Regions from separate parts of the Homo sapiens genome. Here region 2 is linked to region 1. Evidence: promoter capture Hi-C in human tissues and cell types (Jung and others, 2019). All regions are on one chromosome and are shown on one strand. Each heading gives the region's core, a stretch centred on a gene start or on the middle of the fragment in contact. The rest is flanking DNA. Distances are from core to core; before and after follow the strand shown.

Region 1 (3,741 bases), core at 24-2,523:
GGGCAGGCTGCTTGCCCTCTCCGGGCCTTGGTTTCCTCATCTGTAAAACAGTGATAACACCCCTGTCCCGGGAGTTGTGAGGATTCAGAGATGGCAGACGCACCGAAAGCCTCGGTAGGATGTCTGCCCAGCGGCTGGCCCTCAGCAAACGGTCACTATTTTTATATGCCAAGAAATGCAAGTCTTTGGAGATAAATTCTTGGTGAAATTCAGCTCTATGAGAGGCGGAAGCACATTGGGGTCACAGCTATTCATGTATCATGTGCAAGCTCAGTAAGTGTCCGATCGGGCACGGGAATTCGCCCCGGGACTCCAGGCAAGGCAGGTACTGGCTGGCGCGGATGAGCACTTCTGACGGTCCCTCCAACTGCCAGCCTGTCCCTCGCGGAGCCCAGGGCCTGGAGCACCTGCCGTTTGGAGAATAAAATCAATCACTTTGTCTTGTCTCTCCGTCAAGGGGCCTCGCTCCCCCGTCTCTCTCCTAACTCTCGAGGATGGTCTGCGCTGGGGGGAGGACTCCCTTAGCCTGGGTCAGGGGCTGCAGCGACGCCTCCAGGAAAGACCTCGGCCCGGACCGCCCGCCCCGGCATCTGCCGCCCCCCGGCCCGCAGTCCCGGAAACTCACCCCTTTCCTCTCGGCCTCCTCGTTCAGGGCGGTCACCCAGGCCGCCTGCCACTGGCTCCTCCAGCTGCCCAGCGTCAGGATCCAGGAGAGCAGCGCGTCGGACCCCGGGCGCGGCCCCTCTCCAGGCTCCACCGCCCGCCGCTGGGGCTGGGGTCGCGCCCTGGCCAGCGCCCACTGCGCCAGGTACAGGCCTACCGTGGCCAGGGCCGCGACGAAGAGCGACACCAGCGCGAGCCACTGCGCCTCCCCGAGCCACGAGCCCAGCCGGGCCATGGCCATGGCGCATCCCCGGCCCGCCTCGCCCCAACTTCCCCGGCAGCCCCGGGCCGGAACGGCGGACTCAGGACACGCGCTGGCTGCGGCCACAGCGCGCTGGGGGCGTGGAGGGGGCGCGGCGGGGTCGGAGCCCGGCGAGGAGCGTGGCCGGGGGCCTCTGGGCGGGCAAGCGGGGAGGAAACGCGCGGCGGCCGCGGCCCGGGCTGGGCGCAAGCCCCGCACACCTGCGGAACAGGGGCGCGAGCGGACCCCGCGGCCCGCGCTCCCGACTCGGCGTCTGGGAAGTTCCTGGGCCGCTGCGGGCCGCGCTTCCTCCTGCGCGCGCCGCCCCGGGCGTCCCGCCCGCGGCCCAGCGGTGGCCGGAGGAGGCTCTGGCCGCGGGGCGGGGCGGGGCGGGGGCGGTGCCCGAGGGAGGGGGCGCGGCCGGGCCTGCGGGGGCCGCAGTCCTCCCCCCTGCTCCCAACGCGGCGTGCCCCCGCCCCCCTAAAGGCCCGGCCTTCCCGGCCCCGCCACGTGCGCGCGTCGCCCGCCCCTCCGGCGCCTGCCCGCGGGCCGCGAGGTGACCCGGGCCTCCGGATTCATCAGCCCAACCCCGGCGGCTGCTGTGCGGCTGCTTGGCTTGGCTCGTGTGCGCGCTTGCACAAGTGCGTGTGTGTGCACATGTGTGAGTGTGCGTGTGCACAGCGCGCAGTCAGGGTGATTTCGAGGACTGCCATTTGCTCGCCAGCGAGACAGGATCCAGGCTCAGTCCTCGGAAAGTCCCTGGAAATCCGTGGCTGCCCCTGGAGCCAGGGGCTGGGCCTGCCTTAGGGGGCGTGCTTCTCAGAGGCAAGGAGGGGCTCAGCACCAGGCCCAGGCCCTGCCTTCTGTGTGGCTGTGTCATTCATTCAGTGTGCGGGTGGGGCGGGGGTGCATGTGGTGTGATGTGTGTGGCGCATGTGGTGTGATGTGTTGTGGGTGTGGTGTGTGGTGCACAGGATGGTGTGAGTGTGTATGTGTGGTGCATGGGTGTGGTGTGTGTGTAAGCGTGGTGCATGTGGTGTGGTATGTGTGTTGCGTGCCAGTGTGGTGCATGTGGTGTGTGTGATGTGTAAGCGTGGTGCATGTGGTGTGGTGCGTGTGTGGTGTGTCGGTGTGGTGCATGGGTGTGTGTACGTGTGATGTGTAAGTGCACAGCATGTGGTGTATGTGTGTGGTGTGTGGTGCACAGGATGGTGCGAGTGTGTATGGTGGTGCATGGGTGTGTATGTGTGATGTATAAGTGCAGTGTGTGTGGTGTGTGTGTGTGGTGTGTGTGTGTGATGTGTAAGCGTGGTGCATGTGGTGTGGTGCGTGTGTGGTGTCGGTGTGGTGCATGGGTGTGTGTACGTGTGATGTGTAAGTGCACAGCATGTGGTGTGTGTGTGTGGTGCATGTGGTGTGTGTGGTGTGTATGTGTGATGTGGTGTGGTGTATGTATGTGGTGTGTCAGTGTGGTGCGTGTGTGTGTGGTGCACAGGGTGATGTGAGCGTGTGTGTGTGGCACATGGGTGTGGTGTGGTGCTGTGTGTATATGTATTGTGTAAGTGCGTTGCATGTGGTGTGGTTTGTGTGTGTGGTGAACACGGTGGTGTGTGTATGTGTGGTACATGGATGTGGAGTGTGTGTATGTGTAATGTGTGAGTGCGGTGCATGTGGCGTGGTGTGTGGGTGGTGTGTCAGTGTGGTGCATGTGGTATGGTGTGTGTGTGTGTGGTGTGGTGTGTGGGACATGCCCCTGTGCCCTCCTCTTGCAGAGTGGACGCGGTCCTTAGGGAGTGCCATAGAAACATACTAGCCTGAGATTCTCCGGGGCCTAAAACAGGCCTAAACCATAAAAAAGTGATTCCCCTGTTATTTTCTGCAGCTGTATTAAGGGGACTTGACCTTGAAAGGAATTAGATAGACTGAGCATTTGGCCTTCTCTTCCCTAGCCAGGAGTCTGCTGCGGGGCCAGTGGATGGTCCATCAGAGGGGATTCTGGCCCTGAATCCGTGGGCCCGGATTTTCTTCAGGAAAGAGGAAGGAATGGCACAGCAGCTGGACGGAGAGCCTTTGTGGGGAACAGGATAGGACGCTGTCAGGGAGGTGAAATTAGACGGGGATTGCCCAGGTGAGCTGGGGATGGACCCTTGCGAGCCAGGTCTGTTATCAGAAAGTGGAAATAAGAATGAGACTATCCATCCTGGCTAACATGGTGAAACCCCGTCTCTATTAAAAACACACACACACACAAAACTCAGCCGGGCGTGATGGCGGTCGCCTATAGTCCCAGCTACTCGGGAGGCTGAGGCAGGAAAATGGAGTGAACCCGGGAGGCGGAGCTTGCAGTGAGCCGAGATCGCGCCACTGCACTCCAGCCTGGGCGACAGAGCGAGACTCCGTCTCAAAAAAAAAAAAAAAAATTAAGAATGAGACCATCAGCATCCTGCAAGTGACCCATGTGTTACACACGAGCGCTCCAGTCTGCCGCAGCCTCTTAAGGGTGGGGGGAACTGCTCTTCTTTTCTTCTATTCTGTGTTATTTTAGGCAGAAACAAAAGAAATCCCTTCTTATTTGGCAGAAAAGTCTAATTATGTTCTGACCTGTAGCTAGACCTATGCAGTCAGATAATTCGAGTCCTGCTGGTCCCCTTGCCAGAATAACCGGGGTGAGGAATCCGAGGGCCCAGTGTTCCCCGTGCCATGTGTGCACACAGGCCGCCTGCGGCTGTGTGGGCAGTGACGAGAGCCTGTCCTGTGTGACCGGTGGAACCCGTCTCATTCCTTCAGGTCTCAGGTGTGCTGGCCCATCCCACTTACTTATTTAGAGGCTTGTAACA
Region 2 (3,617 bases), core at 927-3,426, 200 kb before region 1:
TGTCAGCCTGGCCCAAATGTGGACCTGGGAACACCCTTCCTCCTTGGCTAGCAACACTCACAGCAAAGAAATCCCTGAACTCTACAAGCACCCACCCCTTCTATGTGGACTTAGCCCCCTTTCTGTTTGTTTGTTTTTTAGACAGGGTCGCGCTCTGTTGCCCAGGCTGGAATGCAGTGGTGCAATCATGACTTACTGCAATCTCCACCTCCCGGGCTCAAGCAATCCCCCAACCTCAGTCCCGAGTAGCTGGGACTACAGGTGCACGCCACCAAGCTGGGCTAATTTTTGTATTTTTTGTAGAGATGAGGTTTCACCATGTTGCCCAGGCTGGTCTCAAACTCCTGGGCTCAAGTAATCCTCCTGCCTCGGCCTCCCGCAGTGCTGGGATTACAGGCGTGAGTCACCGCGCCTGGCCCGAGCCCCATTTCTGACTGGCAGCAAGAGGCCTTTCTGAAAGCTGCAGCTCAGGGCATGAAGCATTGAGGTTGAGAGCCCCTGGCACCCACAGGGGATGGGGGGCGGCATGTCACACACCTGTATACATCGTGCTTGGTGTCGAAGAGCCGGCTCTTCTCCCTGATGCGCTCTGGAGGGAGGTAGGCGATTGTGCCAAACAGGCCATCCATGCTGAGGTCATGCGAGTGGGACAGCCCGTTGCACTTGGCCAGACCAAAATCAGAAATCTGCAACACAGCCATCAGAGCGGGGCTCATTAGCCTGCAACAGTGATATTTTATGATGCTTTATCAAAAGCTCCCTTCTGCAATCTCAGAGGGTGGGTGAGAGCTTTCCAGGAGCCCCTAAGAGCCGTGTCTGTGCCTCTCCAGGTAGCCCTGCCCCAGGCAGGGAGGGAGACAGATTCTGGGGCAGAAGCAAGCCTGGAGGCATTAGGAGCAGCACATTTGACGGGCAGGTGAAAGAATCGTACTGTAAGGAAGGAGTTATCCGGGACAGAACTGCAGAAGAATTAGAATCCACCTTCTGTAAAGCATCATGTTTGCCATGGTGGTTGAGAGCCGGCTGAGCCGGCATAAAGGGAAAAAAACAAGCCTTCGAGGGTTCAGGTAAAGAGAGACACATGTGAAGACCAGGTCTGCTCCTAGAGAAGTCGGGGAGCAGGTTATGCAACCTGCCAGCTGGGGAGGCTGGCGGGCAAGTGGCTGCAAGTCCTTTAAAGGGAAACACAGAAACACACCTTCAGAAGCCCTTTAAACTTTAAAGCAAACAAAACACACGCCTCAGAGCCCCGTCCATCTGGAGTGTTTTGTGATCAGCAGACACTGGCTGGCTGCTTCAAACACATGTGTTCGAGTGAAGGTCTGATAAACACCTCTGCTGGCAGCGCCCGGGCCCCAAGGAGCACCGGCCACCCAGCTCCTCCAGGAATGCCCTCAACGTCCGCATTCAGGGGAGGCAGGTCTCAGGTCTCCTTCGGGCAAAGGTGACCTTGGAGCTCACTGGGGAGACTTCACAGACCCCCGGTCTGACCTCTCTCGGGGGCATCCCCTTTCCTGCCAGTGTCCTACCCTCTCCAGTGTAACTCAGTCCCCTTTGAAGCTGCTGAAAACCGTATGTGGGATGAAGACACAAGTCATCAGCATTAATGGGACTCTTGATCCAGGGGGAGTGCTGCTCTCAACTTTCCTTCAAGGCATATGGATTTTTTTAAAAACCCTTTTCATTAACTCTTGAGCTCCTCTCAAACACACCCATGGAGTGACAGGAAATGAGGCTGAGTCAGGCCTTAATTCTGGGCTGGCCATGCCCATGTGGTGAGCCAATAGGGCTGCTGTCATCAGCACCAAACAGCTGGGAGAATTTATGACCTGTGACTCGGGCTTCCAGGGATCCTGAGCACATCTGCAGGGAGGTAGGGGGGAAGGCCTGCGAGCAGGGACCGGCCCTCCTTCTCTGCAGCCAGGAGCACCAGGACAAGGCCTCGACTCCAGCGGCTCTCATGTCCTCCCACTTCCATTTCTCCCAGGGCCTTCAGGCCTGCACCGCCCTTGAGAGCCACACTCTGCACTCCAGGGAAAGCGCCAGCTCCCCAGAGGAACGCCATCACCCGACCCTGCAAACCCCGGCGGCTGCTGGACGCTGGGACACAACAACGGGTCCTAACTCTCCAAATAGCTCCAGAGCACAGGAAGTTTCAGTTCAACAGTCATCAGTGGCTTGAAAGCCTTCAAATTCAGAAATGGGCTGAACAATGAGAACACATGGACAGAGGGAGGGGAACATCACACGCCGGGCCCTGTCGGTGCGTAGGGGAAGAGGGAAGGGAGAGCATTAGGACAAACACCTAATGCATGCGGGTCTTAAAACCTAGGTGATAACCTAGATGGTGGATGGGTGCAGCAAACCACCATGGCACATATAAACCTATGTAACAAACTGGCACATTCTGCACATGTATCCCGGAACTAAAAGTAAAATAAAAAATAATAATAAAAATAAAGAAAGCATCACATACTTTCTAGGCAATTCCTCCTCCCCCTGTATGGTTGAATGTAGGAAAAAAATATCTCCCTCCCACGGTTAGTTAAGGATCAGACTCACTGTTCTAATCTTGCCTGTACAAGTTAGTAGCTCCGTGGCCCTGGACTATTAGCCTCTCTGTGCCTGTTTCCTTTTTTCATAAAAGGAGGCAATAGCAGTACCCATCCTGTAGCTTTGTTGTGAAAATTAAATGACATCTGAGATCATTAAGAAAGAAAAGAAAAGAAAAGAAAAACGACAGGGGTGCAGAGATCTCAGCCTGGTGCTTCCCCAGGCCTGCAGCCTTTTCTCCTCCTGTCTTTGTCAGATAGAGCCAGCCACTCCAAACTATACTTGGTGAAAAGAAAACGAGCAGAAATTCTCTGTAAAACCTCTGGCAACAAAATGCAAGCTCGGAATTGAGAATTCTAGGAGGGTCACTGACCCTCTATGTTCTCCTCCCTCCATGTCTCGGACTCCTGGCCGGCTGCATTTCCCCTCCGCCTTTCCTCATCTTCCCACCCAAGCTGCCCCTCACCCCGTGTCCTCAACAGCGAGCTACTGTGGCATCCACTCTGACCAGCAAATGCTTCAAGAGTTACAAACACTCTCATCAGCACCCGACTCTGCATCTCCAAGAGCTGAGGGCTCACAGCTGCCCCCAAGCACATGGCCCTTCAACTTCAAGGTCCAGCTGTCAAGACTAAGAAAGCAGCCTGCCGGGGTTTTGCTGCCTCTAAAAGAAAGACACAGCAGAACGTGACCCGCGTGTGACCCTTTGAAAAGCGTCTGTTTTGGGCTAACTGGACATATAAATGCAGCCTGAGATTTTAAACCAAGTTATTTCATTTTTAAGTTGAAATTGATTCCAACTAGTATCTTAATATTGGTATTTAGTATATGTAATGTTGAATAATATCAAGCATTAATTTGATACTATTACTTTGTATACTATTTACATTTAACTGCTTCATGAAGTAGACAGTTGCTGTGATATTTCCAGTTTGAATCGAGCCCTGAGCACTGAGGGAGCCCATCTCAGAGGCGAATGGCAGCACTGGAATGGCAACTTAGGATCTAATTGCAGGATTCTGGATTACAGTTTTCCTGCATTGAATAACTGTCTACTGAGGACT

The links. Contacts are between HindIII fragments. The study calls those that stand out against the background at their distance.
Region 2: a contact is called between a fragment that was not itself captured here and the fragment with the promoter of C2CD2 in region 1, in 1 of the 25 tissues and cell types used here (spleen).

What each region holds. Positions count from the first base shown.
Region 1 is chr21:41,952,745-41,956,485 of GRCh38, forward strand. C2CD2 (C2 calcium dependent domain containing 2) reads right to left here and starts at 1,274. Exons shown (of 14, transcript NM_015500.2): 1 at 626-1,274. The coding sequence starts at 904. RefSeq lists enhancers at 246-1,020, 3,376-3,455 and a silencer at 897-1,566. The HindIII fragment of the contact is 14,094 bases long and covers 1-3,741 here.
Region 2 is chr21:41,750,560-41,754,176 of GRCh38, forward strand. RIPK4 (receptor interacting serine/threonine kinase 4) reads right to left here. Exons shown (of 8, transcript NM_020639.3): 3 at 538-686. Among named protein-coding and RNA genes, the nearest start is that of MIR6814, 5.5 kb to the left of the region's middle. RefSeq lists an enhancer at 2,282-3,073. The HindIII fragment of the contact is 5,083 bases long and covers 1-3,617 here.